Linked DNA regions of Homo sapiens: region 1 is linked to region 2. The links are contacts of gene promoters, found by promoter capture Hi-C in blood cells and fetal thymus (Javierre and others, 2016). All regions are on one chromosome and are shown on one strand. Each heading gives the region's core, a stretch centred on a gene start or on the middle of the fragment in contact. The rest is flanking DNA. Distances are from core to core; before and after follow the strand shown. Region 1 overlaps OTUD7B (OTU deubiquitinase 7B). Region 2 holds the start of MRPS21 (mitochondrial ribosomal protein S21).

Region 1 (6,361 bases), core at 2,478-4,977, 330 kb after region 2:
TAAAAATACAAAAATTAGCCTGATATGGTGGTGGACACCTGTAATCCTAGCTACTCGGGAGGCTGAAGCAGGAGAATCTCTTGAACATGGGAGGCGGAAGTTGCGGTAAGCCAAGAACACACCATGGCACTCCAGCCTGGGGGACAGAGTGAAACTCTGTCTCAAAAAAACCAACCAAAAAAACCCATAAAAAACCAAATAAACAAAAAATTAAGTCAATTTACAACTTAATATATTATTTGCAGCCTGGTGCCATGGCTCACACCTATAATCCCAGCACTTTGGGAGGGTAAGGCAGGGGGGTCACTTGAGGCCAGGGGTTTGAGACCAGCCTGGCCAACATGGTGAAACCCCATCTCTACTAAAAATACAAAAATTAGCAGAGTCAAGCTGAGGTATCTTACCATTATGCTTTTTTGCCACAGGAATGTGGGGTTTCCATGATCGGGACTTGATGCTGCGGAAAGCTTTGTATGCACTGATGGAGAAGGGAGTTGAGAAGGAAGCGTTGAAAAGGCGCTGGAGGTGGCAGCAGACACAGCAGAATAAAGAGGTGGGAGAGCGTGGGTGGGAGCGCCTTGTTTCCTAAAGTTACCAAGCTGCCAAAGTCACTGGGTGCCTGCCAGTAGAAAATATTTCCAAGTGTTTAGGTCAGTGTGACTCCCCTTATGATCCTGAAAATTGGAGAAAATGCAGTTAACACCAATGGGGTAAATGCCTTCTGATGTGGTCATGAGAACTGGTGGTGGGCATGAGACCTACAGAGAGGTTATCTAACATTGTGCTTTTCCCCCAGTAGGTGCTTTATAGCTTTTAGTGGCAGTGTTTTGCAAAATGAGTTATGACAATTCCATAGGATTTTTGTATTGTTTTGTTTTTTTGCTTGTAATAAGGCTAGATCAATTTTTAAAGACTTATGTTTTCAGCCCCTATAGAAATGTGAATGGTTAAAATCTTTTAGGACATATATACCATTTGTTTTTCATATACTCAGTTTTAGTTTATTTTAAATTTTAAAAAGCATAAGGAACCAGCATTCTAATCACACACACACACAAAAAGCATACCTATTTAATTGAGTCTGAACAGTACTTCTCAGGAGTTTGTCAAATGTTGAGGCTGCTGTTATATAAGGCAGTAACAACAGATTGTTTGTACTTGCCCTCTCCAAAACGGGTTGCGCAAACTATGGCTATTTTGTAAGAAAAAAAAAAACAAAAAAAAACAAAAACAAAAAAACCTTTTATCAGAATACAGCCCTGGGCATTTCTTGGATGTTTACACGTGTAACTGCTTTCTTCCTCCAGCAGCACAGTAGTAACATGTGGCCTGCACAGCCCATACTTACTGACTACCTGGCCCTTTACAGAAAAAGTTTGCTGATTACTTCCCTTCAATAATGACATTATGCCTTTACATAAAAATAATGAGGCTCCCTATTTCCTTTTCCTGTGATTCTGTGCTATGTTTATATCTCCTGCTCTTTATGTATATCTATTTTTTTTTTGCCATGTTATGGCTGGATCTTTCTGGCATTTAGTATGGCAATATCTCTTCAGAAACTTTCCTTTTTCATCCACCTTTCTTTTTTTCTCATTTTATTGCTGTCATAACTTGACAATATAGAAGAGTTTTTTTGTTTTAGTTATTTAGAATTTTATATCCTGAAGATTTAATATGTAAGTAGAACATGCTATGTTTCTTCCTCAAAAACAAATAATCCAGTTGTTAAAAGTAGATGATATTAAGATCAGAATCCTCTCCTTGAGCAGCCAGTCTTCCCCAGAAGATTCCTGAGGGAAATAAACCCACAGGGGCAAGGCCACATAAGTACTTGACATTCTTTTTTAGCACCAAAAGCTTGGCTGGATCTCGTGGAAAGCTTTTGCCTGAGCTAGAGCTAGCCTAGAATTTAGAATCCAGAGCAAATCAGTAGTCAGTTTTGTGGTAGTCAGCTTTGTCCTCTTCACTGTTGAGTTCAGATAATACCGGAACCTTAACCACTGCAGAGGCAAGAAAAGGCCAAACCAGAACATGCCAACTATTAAGTAGAAATGACAGCAACACCCAGAAAATTAAGTGTGCCCAATTCCAGTTATTAAAGCAATTAGTTATTATTCTAAAGATGGGGTTAGATTATAATGGTATTTAGCCAGGAAACCCAGAAATACCCACGTTCTATCCTTGGCCAGCCAGCCTTTCCCTCTCAAAGTCAGCCTTTCCATCTGAAAGTCCCCAACATGCATAGAGAATAGTGGCTAGTAATGGAGCAATAGTTTTAGTCCTTTTGCTCAGCACAGTGAAAGTTCATACTGAAAATGTGGCTTTCATAATTGTCTTAGCTTAGACCATTCATAGCATTATTACCCACCTTGGGAGTGGGAATGGTAGGAGGAGGATAATGAACTGGGGAAGCTTCCTTTAGCTCCCCAGTACCAAAACCACACTAAATAAGTTTTGATTTCCTGGGCTTCCTTGTTTTATGTTGAAATTGGTGGTGAGGCTCAGTAATAGTTTCTTAAATGTTAAGGCTAGAAGTTGTACACCACCTAGTGGCTGTGTACATTAAAACAGGAAGCAGAAACCGGCCAGGAAGAGGGAGCCGGATCTGGATGTGTCTATTGGAGTGACTGCAGCACTCCATATAGAACCTGGGCATTGCTCTCTTTATTTTTAATTGAAGTAAAATTTGTGATAGCATTTTACAAATTGAAAATAGCTGTGTCATTTAAAAAATTCCCATTAAATTTGTTCCCAGTACCCCTCATGTTTCCAGTGATTTCCTTCTACTCTGTCAGTGTGCGGTTAAGCCGTATAGACTCATTTTAATACTAATGTCAGCCAAATAAAATTAATAAGTTAAACTTATTTCCCTTATCATTATATACATCCTAAAGCCAATGTATTTTAAAATTGCTTGTACCATTGCCTGCTCTCCTTTGATAAAAATTGTAGTTTCACTTAGCATATGTTTATTGATTATAGTCACAAAATAGACCTTGGGTGTATTGCATAAAACATGATCCTAGCATAGAGGAGGAGATGGACATGTAAATACATAATTGCAACAGGTTATAACATGTATGACTCTTACAATAGACGTCTCTATAGCAGTTAATGCTGGCCGGATGCGGTGGCTCATGCCTGTAATCCCAGCACTTTGGAAGGCCAAGGCAGGCGGATCACCTGTTGGTAGTTCGAGACCAGCCTGGCCAACATGGTGAAACCCCGTCTTTACTAAAAATACAAAACTAGCCAGGCATGGTGGTGTGCACGTGTAGTCCCAGCTACTCCGGAGGCTGAGGCAGGAGAATTGCTTGAACCTGGGAGGTGGAGGTTGCAGTGAGCCAAGATCATGCCACCACACTCCATCCTGGGTGACAGAGCAAGACTTTGTCTCAAACAAACAAACAAAAAAACAACAACAACTCTATAGCAGTTAGGGAGAGAGGATACAAAGGAAGGAGTGGTTGATCTGCCAAGGGAGATTTAGAAGACTATTTGGAGGAATGATACCTGAGTTCTGTCCTAAAAGTTGAGAAATTGTTCACAAGGTTGACAGAAAGTGAGCTACTCCAGGCAGAAGGAACAGCTTAGACAAAAGCTCAGTGGTATAAAACAACATGGTATATTTCAGGAACTACAGCTGATTCAGTGAGATATATCTGACTAGAGAAGTGGGTAGGGGCCAGAAAGTAGGCTTTGTATGCAGCACTTCTACTTGGGAGGCTGAGGCAGGAGAATTGCTTGAACCCGGGAGGTGGAGGTTGCAGTGAGCTGAGATCGTTCCACTGTACTCCAGCCTGGGCGACAGAGTGAGACTCTGTCTCAAAAAAAAAAAAAAAAAAAAAGAAGGTATCCAGGTGTGGGGTGGGTGAAAGAAAGAAAGGAATATTAGATAATTCCTTGGTTTTGAGCTTGGATGTTTGGGTGATAGTTGGTGCTATTCACTAAGGTAGGAAAATAGGAAGAAGAGTGGGTTTGGGAAAAAACAGGAGTTCTATTTTGACTTTACAGAGTTTGAGGTAGCCATGGGCAGGTGGCAGTCTCCAGTAGGTAGCTGGATATATGAATATAGAAATTAAGAAGTCTAGGCTGAGTGCAGTGCCTCATGCCTGTAATCCCAGCATTTTGGGTGGCTGAGACAGGCAGATCACCAGGTCAGGAGTTCGAGACCAGCCTGGCCAACATGGGGAAAGCCCGTCTCTACTAAAAATACAAAAATTAGCTGGGCCTGGTGGTGGGTGCTGTAATCCCAGCTACTCGAGAGGCTGAGGCAGGAGAAGCATTTGAACCCGGGAGGTGAAGTTTGCAGTGAGCCGAGATTGTGCCATTGCACTCCAGCCTGGGTGACTCTGTCTACAAAAAAAAAAAAAAGAAAAAAAGGAAAGAAAAGAAAAAGAAAAGAAATTAAGAAATCTGGGCTGGAGATAGATGGTATATACCATACAGATGGTAGTGGATGAGATTATGGCAGTAGAAGAGATCACCCAGAGGGAACCAAGGTGAAAATCATTGACACACCACTAGTATTTTGGGGGCAGACAGAATTTAGAGGAATAGAAAGTAATTTTATGGACGCTAATGGCAAAGAAAATTTAAAGAGGAAAATAACCCATGTGAAGGCTAAGATGGGAACCAGGGTCCACTGAATGTGGCAATTAGAAGGTCATTGTTCTTTGCCAAAATCAGGTAGGTGAAATGTTATGTGGCAGGTGGGTGAGCAGGATGGAGGGCAGAAATGGGACAGATTGCAGTAGGTCAAAAAGAATGGATGATAAAGAAGTTTAATAGTCATAGACTATTAGTTCATGGATCTTGACTGTAAAAGAGATAAGAGATTTGACTTTGTAGTACAATTTGTAAACCAAGTGCTAAGGGATTAGGGAGTAAGTAACAGTGAATAAGGTGGAATAGGTATTGCCTCTTAGAACCCAGCCTCTAATTGCCCAATGTCCCCTGCCTGTCCTTCACACAGTCAGGGCTGGTATACACAGAAGATGAATGGCAGAAGGAGTGGAATGAACTGATCAAGCTTGCCTCAAGTGAACCCCGAATGCATCTAGGTACCAATGGAGCCAACTGTGGTGGGTAAGTATGGCTAAGTAGGGGAGGAGGAAACCTGCATAGAGTCCTCACTGGGCTTCCACAGCCCAGTGTCTAGAGAGCTCTGTGCTAAGAGGATATTAGAAGGAAAGAGGGGAACTATGCTAAGGGCACAAAAGTGTGTAACAACATGATATGTTTAGGAACTACAGGTAGTTCGGTATTGAACTGGAATATAAAGTAGCCCATCTAGACTTTGGAAACTTCAGGACAAATGACCCAGTATCTTCAGTAAGTAAACTGCAAGGAAAATAAAAAGGGACCAGGAACTTGTAGGTTTAAATGGACTAAAAAGACATATCAGGCCGGGTGTGGTGTCTCACACCTGTAATCTCAGCACTTTGAAAGGCTGAGGCAGGAGGATCGTGTGAGCCCAGGAGTTCGAAACCAGCCTGGGTAACATAGTGAGACCCCCTTTCTTTTTCTTTCTTTTTTTTCTTTTTTTTTTGAGACAGAGTCTTACTTTGTTGCCCAGGCTGGAGTGCAGTGGTGTGATCTCTGCTCACTGCAACCTCTGCCTTCAGGGTTCAAGTGATTCTCTGTTTCAGCCTCCCAAGTAGCTGGGACTACAGATGCATGCCACCACGCCCAGCTAATTTTTGTATTTTTATTAGAGACGGGGTTTCACCATTTTGGCCAGGGTGATCTCAAACTCCTGGCCTCAAGTGATCCACCCACCTTGGCCTCCCAAAGTGCTGGGATTACAAGCATGAGCCACCATGCCTGGCCAGTGAGACCACATCTTAAAAAAAAAAAATTAGCCAGGCATGGTGGTGCATGCCTATAGTCCCAGCTACTTGGGAGGCTGAGGTGGGAGGATTGCCTGAGCTGGGGAGGTCGAGGCTGCAGTGAGTTGTGACAGCACCCCTGCACTCCAGCCTGGGTGACAAAGAGAGACCTCTGTCTCTAAAAGAAAAAAAAGACATCAACCAGTTGGGATGTGTGGACATCATAAGACAATTAAGGAAATGTGAACAATGTCTCTGTGTTTGATTATTGTTAAAATTATAAAATGTGATATTAATGGTATAGTGGTTGTTTAAAAAGGTAGTCCTGGCCAGGCGCAGTGGCTCACGCCTGTAATCCCAGAACTTTGGGAGGCCGAGGTGGGCGGGAATTCGAGACCAGCCTGGCCAATGTGGTGAAACCCTGTCTCTACTGAAAATACAAAAAATTAGCTGGGCGTGGTGCTAGGCGGCTGTAATCCCAGCTACTCGAGAGGCTGAGGCAGGAGAATTGCTTGAACCCAGGAAGC
Region 2 (6,578 bases), core at 16-2,515:
TGCTCAGGAGGCTGAGGCAGGAGAATGGCGTGAACCCAGGAAGCGGAGCTTGCAGTGAGCCGAGATCGTGCCGCTGCACTCCAGCCTGGGTGACAGAGCGAGACTCTGCCTCAAAAAAAAAAAAAAAAATTAAAATTAAAATTAAAAGCGGGGAGGTGCGGGGGGTGATTACTTGTTGAATACAATTCATACAGTTAGGTTTGAGGAAGAACTTTTTTTCTTTTTTTTTGAGATAGAGTCTCACTCTTGCCCAGGCTGGAGTGCAAGTGGCTCGATCTTGGCTCACTACAACCTCTGCCTCCCGGGTTCAAGCGATTCTCCTGCCTCAGCTCTCGAGTAGCTGAGATTACAGGCGTTTGCCACCACGCCCGGCTAATTTTTGTATTTTTAGTAGAGACACGGTTTCACCATGTTGGCCAGGCTGGTCTGAAACTCCTGACCGCATGTGATCCACCCGCCTCGGCCTCCCAAAGTGCTGGGATTACAGGCGTGAGCCACCGCGCCCGGCCCAGAACTTCATTTTTAAGATAATAAACTGAGGGGCTGAGACGTTTTAAGAGACTGTGAACACCTGGGCTGGCACTGTTTTGAGAACAATCAACGAAAGGGGAAGGGAGAGAATAACCACCGCACTTCCCAGAGAGTCTAGGCATGATTCTGGTCCCTTAACAGTTACCTGTTTAGGGTCCTGTATGCGCTTTCCACGTTCCCTTCCTGTACCATCACAGTCCTGGCGATGAACTTCAGATGTTTTGCCATGACCTTGGATTTAAACCTTCACTCTGTAGAGCCTAAAGGATGATGGAGAAAGGGCGAGGAAAGCAGAAAGAGAAACGCAACATAATACAAACTACACCGCGCGGCTTATTTAGGATTTGGAAATTCAACATGCTCAGGGACGCGCGAGATGGAGCACATGGAAGTCATCCTAGAAAGTAGACGTGAATCGTTGTCTCTTATTCTCACTGCCAGTCCAAATCCTCGCATAGAGAAGAAAAGAGATGGCAGCAGGGCGTTACCACAAAGACGCGTCGCCGGGCATGAGAAGGACACGAGCGACAAGGATGCGCCACAGGGTCCCAACCACCACACATAGTTCCAAAAGGGGTTGAGTTGGGAGTTGGGGAAGGACTCTTTGTTGGTCTTTGGAAAAGGGGGCGAAAGCCCGCAAACCTGCCCTCTCGCCAAGCCAGCCTTCCTTTCCCCAAACCCTGCACAACTCCTCACCTCGCGCGCTCAGTACCTAGCCCACCGGAAGGGTTCTCACTACCGGAAGCGGAAATTACGGAATCGCCAGCGCCGCGCAAAGAAACAGGCCGAGGGAGACAACGTGCGTGGAAACCATAGCAACGTCCTTTCTGGCCTCTGTTGACTGCCTCTCTTCCCCGGGCCTGGACTCTACACCTGACAAAGCAAAATACTCATTGACTTAAATTCCCCCGAAACACGTTTCTCGCCCTCTCATGGAGTCGAAGTCCTTCGGCCTCTGAGAAGGTCAGCCCAATTTCATACCCCTTAATCCTGTGAAATCCTTGATAAATATTTGAGCCATTTCTCTTTCTCGATGGAAAACAAGAGAAGTAGGCGCTTCCTGAGGATGCTTCCTGTTTTCTCTTTGGAAAGGACAGACTCTTTGAGATCTGCTCTCCGGACGAAAAATAGATTGATTCATACACGTCATCTGCCTAAGTGCTAAGGAAAAGAAATAAACATACTGTGAGTTTCCTATATCATCTTCCCACTAATTTAACTACATAAAGTGAAATCAATAAAGATATATGGGAAACACCTGCAGGGTTTAGAATAAAAAATTATGTCAGCTTCTATGCCTTTTCGTGCTAATGAGACCTACTGAAAAACCTCCTTTTAAATTTCTTCTTCGCTGTGGAGACACCCGTCCTCCTATTTGTATGCTACCTGTACATATCCATTTATGGTTATTCACGTAAGTTAACATCTAATGGCTGTAGGAAAACGTACCTCCCTTAGAGAGAGAGTGCGCGCGCACGCTCACGCACACACACACACACACAGACACAGACACAGACGTGTGCATCATCAGTTGATGCTAATAACTTACACTAACACTTAAGCCCACCTCAGAGTAAGCCAGGTCCAAAGTAACGAAATAGAACTAGATTGGGACATTATTATGCTTGTCAACAAACTTTCACTGAATGACTACTCTGTGTCAGATACTGTTGATACCACTCTAGTGCCTCCTGGACCACTAGGACCACATAAAAGATACTAAAACAAAGTAGTATATAATAAATGCAAAATAAATTATATGGGCTGGACGCGGTGGCTCACACCTGTAATCCCAGCACTTTGGGAGGCCAAGGCAGGCGGATCACTTGAGCCCAGAAGTTCGAGACCAGCCTGGGCAACAAAGCAAAACTCCGTCTTTACAAAAAATATAGAAATTAGCCGGGTGTAGTGGCATGGCCTGTTGTCCTAGCTACTTGGGAGGCTGAGGGGGAGGATCACCTGAGCCTGGAAGGTCAAGGCTGCAGCGAGCTTTGATCACACCACTGCACCCTGGCCTGGGCAATAGAGTGAGACCCTGTCTCAAAAAATTAAAAATGAATAAATAAATAAATAGGGCCAGGCGCGGTGGCGCACGCCTGTAATCCCAGCACTTTGGGAGGCTGAGGCGGGTAGATCACCTGAGGTCAGGAGTTTGAGACCAGCCTGGCCAACATGGTGAAACCCTGTCTCTACTAAAAATACAAAATTAGCCAGGCGTGGTGCCACATGCCTGTAATCCCAGCTGCTTGGGAGGCTGAGGCAGGAGAATCACATGAACCTGGGAGGCGGAGGTGGCAGTGAGCCGAGATCGCACCATTGCACTCCAGCCTGGGCAACAAGAGTGAAACTCCATTTCAAAAAATAAATAAACAAACAAATAATAAATAAAATATGCCACAGCATAATGTGGTGAAAGGCACTGGCTTCAAAGTTGGGAGATCTGGATTCTATCCCAATTCTAATACTCATCAGGCCTATGACCTTGAAGAAGTCATTTAAAACCAGGGGTCTGGAGACTACAGTTTACAGGTCAAATCCTGCTCCACCTGTTTTTGTAAATAAGGCTGTTGACCTACAGTCATGCTTATTTGACTGTGTGTTATGTATGGCTGCTTTGGGCTACGATGGCCGAATTGGGTAGTTGCAATAGAGACATAAAGCCTACAAAGCCTAAAATATTTACTATCTGGCCCTTGCCAGACTCACTCTATTTCCTCATCTCTAAAATGGGACTAATTTTGCCCTGTTCAGTCTCACGAAATTTGTCATGGGAATCAAATAGAATAAAATATGAAGATATGCCGGGCACGGTGGCTCACGCCTGTAATCCCAGCACTTTGGGAGGCTGAGGCGGGTGGATCACGAGGTCAGGAGATCGAGACCATCCTGGCTAACACAGTGAAACCCCGTCTCTACTAAAAATACAAAAGATCAGCTGGGCGTGGCGGCGCTCGCCTGTAGTCTCAGCTACTTGGGAGGCTGAGGCAAGAGAATCACTTGAACCCTGGAGGTGGAGGTTGCAGTGAGCTGAGATGGTGCCACTGCACTCCAGCCTGGGTGACAGAGCGAGACTCTGTCTCCAAAAAAAAAAAAAAAAAAAAGAGAAAAAAAATATGAAGATACTTTGAAAGAAAGGAAGGGAGACAGGAACTGATGTTAATAAGTTCTGTTAACCACTACCATTGGATCAGCTGGAGAGTAACATTTTTGAGAGCCTACTATATACTAAACCCTGTACTAGGTGGGTGTTTTTTATTTTTGTTTTTGTTTTTCTGAAACAGAGTCTCACTCTTGTTGCCCAGGCTAGAATGCAGTGGCACCATCATAGCTCACTGTAGCCTGGACCTCCTGAGCTCAGGTGATCCTTCCACCTCAGCCTCCCGAGTAGCTGGGATTACAGGGACATGCCACTACGCCTAGCTAATTTTTTGTATTTTTAGTAGAGACTAATTTTTTGTATTTTTAATAGTTTCACTATGTTGTCCAGGCTGGTCTCCCAAAGTGCTAGGATTACAAGTGTGAGCCACCCCACCAGGCCCCAAACCCTGCACTAGGTATTTTATGTACATGATTCCATTTAATGGAGTAAACGGCCAAACACTGAGTGTATAGATCATGTTTAACAGAAAGAATGATAGGATGGACTTGAGTTAGTCGTTGAAAGAGGGCAGGGTTTAGATAACAGAAGCAGGAAAGGTTTGGCAAGGTGAACAGCATGAACAAGAGCTTAGGGGCAAAAAGGTGTAGTGTTCAGGAGTCAAAACAAAACAAAACAAAAACCTGCAACAGAGAGATCATGCAGGGGAGCACAGGGAAAAATAGAGACTGTGACTAAAGATTTTGGACTTTCTTCTCAAAGCATTCGAGAGCCATTGAAGAATTTGAATAGGATATGATATGCAAAGCACTGTTCTAGGAAAATTAACTTGGTTATCAGCGAAAAGGGATTAGAAGAGAGACTACTGGTACAGTGAAGTCTAGACCAGACTGGTGGCAATGGAATGGATAGGAAGAAATGGATTTTAAGAGATATTCCAAATAAAGAATAAAAAGGATCTGGTGACCAGATGGCACCAAATTTTAAGCCTAGTTATCCAGGAAAAAACAAAACAAAACAAAAAACTATGGTACTTAGTGATACCACAGATAGCACTAACAGAAGAGGAGACTGTAAAAAGTGGTAGCTGGCTGGCACAGTGGCTCACGCCTGTAATCCCAGCAGGCGTGGGATTGGGAGGCCGAAGTGGGTGGATCATGAGGTCAGGAGTTCAAGATCAGCCTGGCCAACATGGTGAAAGCCCATCTCTACTAAAAATACAAAAAATAGCTGGATGTGGTAGTGGGTGCCTGTAATCCCAGCTACTCAGGAGGCTGAGGCAGAATCATTTGAACTTAGGAGGCGGAGGTTGCAGTGAGCCGGGATCGCACCATTGTACTCCAGCCTGGGTGACATGTGAGACTCTGTCTCAAAAAAAAAGAAAAAAAGTGGTAGCAGGACATGTTTTCAGGAAAGAATAATTTGATTGGTGATTACTGGAAAACACATCAGACTGGAAACCGAGTTCTGTCCACATATTGTGTTGTCCTAGATAAGTCTCCTAAGTTTCGTTTCTTTTTTTTTTTTTTGAGACGGAGTTTCACTCTTGTTGCCCAGGCCAGAGTGCAATGGCTTAATCTTGGATCACCGCAACCTCCGCCTCCCAGGTTCAAGGGATTCTCCTGCCTCAGCCTCCAGAGTAGCTGGGATTAAAGGCATGCACCACCATGCCCAGCTTAATTTTTTTTTTTTGTATTTTTAGTACAGATGGGGTTTCTCCATGTTGGTCAGGCTGGTCTTGAACTCCCGACCTCAGGTGGTCCACCTGCCTTGGCCTCCCAAAGTGCTGGGATTATAGGTGTGAGCCACTGCACCTGGCCCTAAGTTTCTTTATGTATCAAATGAGGAGGTTGGGTTGAACTGGATATACAAGAGGCATTTTTTTTTTTTTTGAGAGGGAGTCTTACTCTGTCACCCAGGCTGGTGTGCAGTGGCGCATCTCAGCTCACTGCAACCTCCGCCTCCCGCGTTCAAGCAATTCTGGTGCATCAGCCTCCTGAGTAGCTGGGACTACAGGTGTGCACCACCACGCCCAGCTAATTTTTGTATTTTTAATAGAGACAGGGTTTCCCTATGTTGGCCACGCTGGTCTTGAACTCCTGACCTCCAGGGATCTGCCTGCCTCTGGTGTGGGATTACAGGCGTGAGCCACAGCGCCCGGCCAAGAGGCTTATGTTGGCTCTAAAACACTGAAAGTTTCAATAATGTTTAAGTACCAGCAATATGTAAATAAAACTGTCCAACAGAAATTTAAACAGTATGCCATCCCAGGGGAAAGATTGGGACTAGAGATAAAGCTGTAGCAGTCTTCTAAGTTGAAGCAATAATTAAAGCCATGAAAGGATATAGTCAGAGAAAAGGGCCAAGGCCTGAGTCTAGGGGAACACCCACACTTTGGAGTAGGTTGAAGTGGGGCCCTTAAGAGACCTAGACATTGCTGCCAGATAGGTAAGAGGAGGATTAGGGTAGTGTGCTGTCATGGGATCTGAGGGCGGAGAGTTTCAGTAGGCAGCATCGAGTGTCAAATGATACAGAGAGCATAATGTACGTAGCCTTTGTAAAGGGTATAGCTGTTGATTAGGTGGAAGCTAGATTATAATACTGGTTCTGTGGGCTCATTAGTGACCTCGGAAGGTGCAACAAGGTGAAAGCAGCAGAAGCTAGGCTGCAAGGGGTTAAGGACTGAGTGGCAGAAAGGAATCAGAAAGAGTATAAATAGACTACATTGTCAAGAAGTATGGAGAAAATAAGAGGACAATCAGCCTTAAGAGATGTTTTCAAGGAGGAAGGATCTGATCATATTTGTGATCAAACCATTCCATTGCCACCACTCTGGTCTGATCATACTTGTGATACTTGGACAAATAATTATTGTTGGGACAAACTGAAGTTACAAGATAAAGAGGGGATATGTGACACAGCAAAAGTTCCAGAGGTGAAGGTAATCAGA

What was found. The method cuts DNA at HindIII sites, captures the fragments that hold promoters and counts their contacts. A CHiCAGO score of 5 or more calls a contact.
Region 1: a contact is called between a fragment that was not itself captured here and the fragment with the promoter of MRPS21 in region 2, in 3 of 17 cell types (naive B cells, neutrophils and M1 macrophages). The highest score is 6.2, in naive B cells.

The regions. Positions count from the first base shown.
Region 1 is chr1:149,958,414-149,964,774 of GRCh38, reverse strand. It overlaps OTUD7B (OTU deubiquitinase 7B), which reads left to right. Exons shown (of 12, transcript NM_020205.4): 6 at 426-553; 7 at 4,979-5,091. Among named protein-coding and RNA genes, the nearest start is that of MTMR11, 25 kb to the right of the region's middle. The HindIII fragment of the contact is 2,620 bases long and covers 2,418-5,037 here.
Region 2 is chr1:150,288,548-150,295,125 of GRCh38, reverse strand. MRPS21 (mitochondrial ribosomal protein S21) reads right to left here and starts at 1,265. Exons shown (of 3, transcript NM_031901.6): 1 at 1,228-1,265; 2 at 677-791. The coding sequence starts at 759. It overlaps LOC105371434 (a long non-coding RNA gene), which reads left to right and starts at 1,306. Exons shown (of 2, transcript XR_922129.4): 1 at 1,306-1,494; 2 at 1,629-1,826. RefSeq lists an enhancer at 918-977. The HindIII fragment of the contact is 15,404 bases long and covers 1-6,578 here.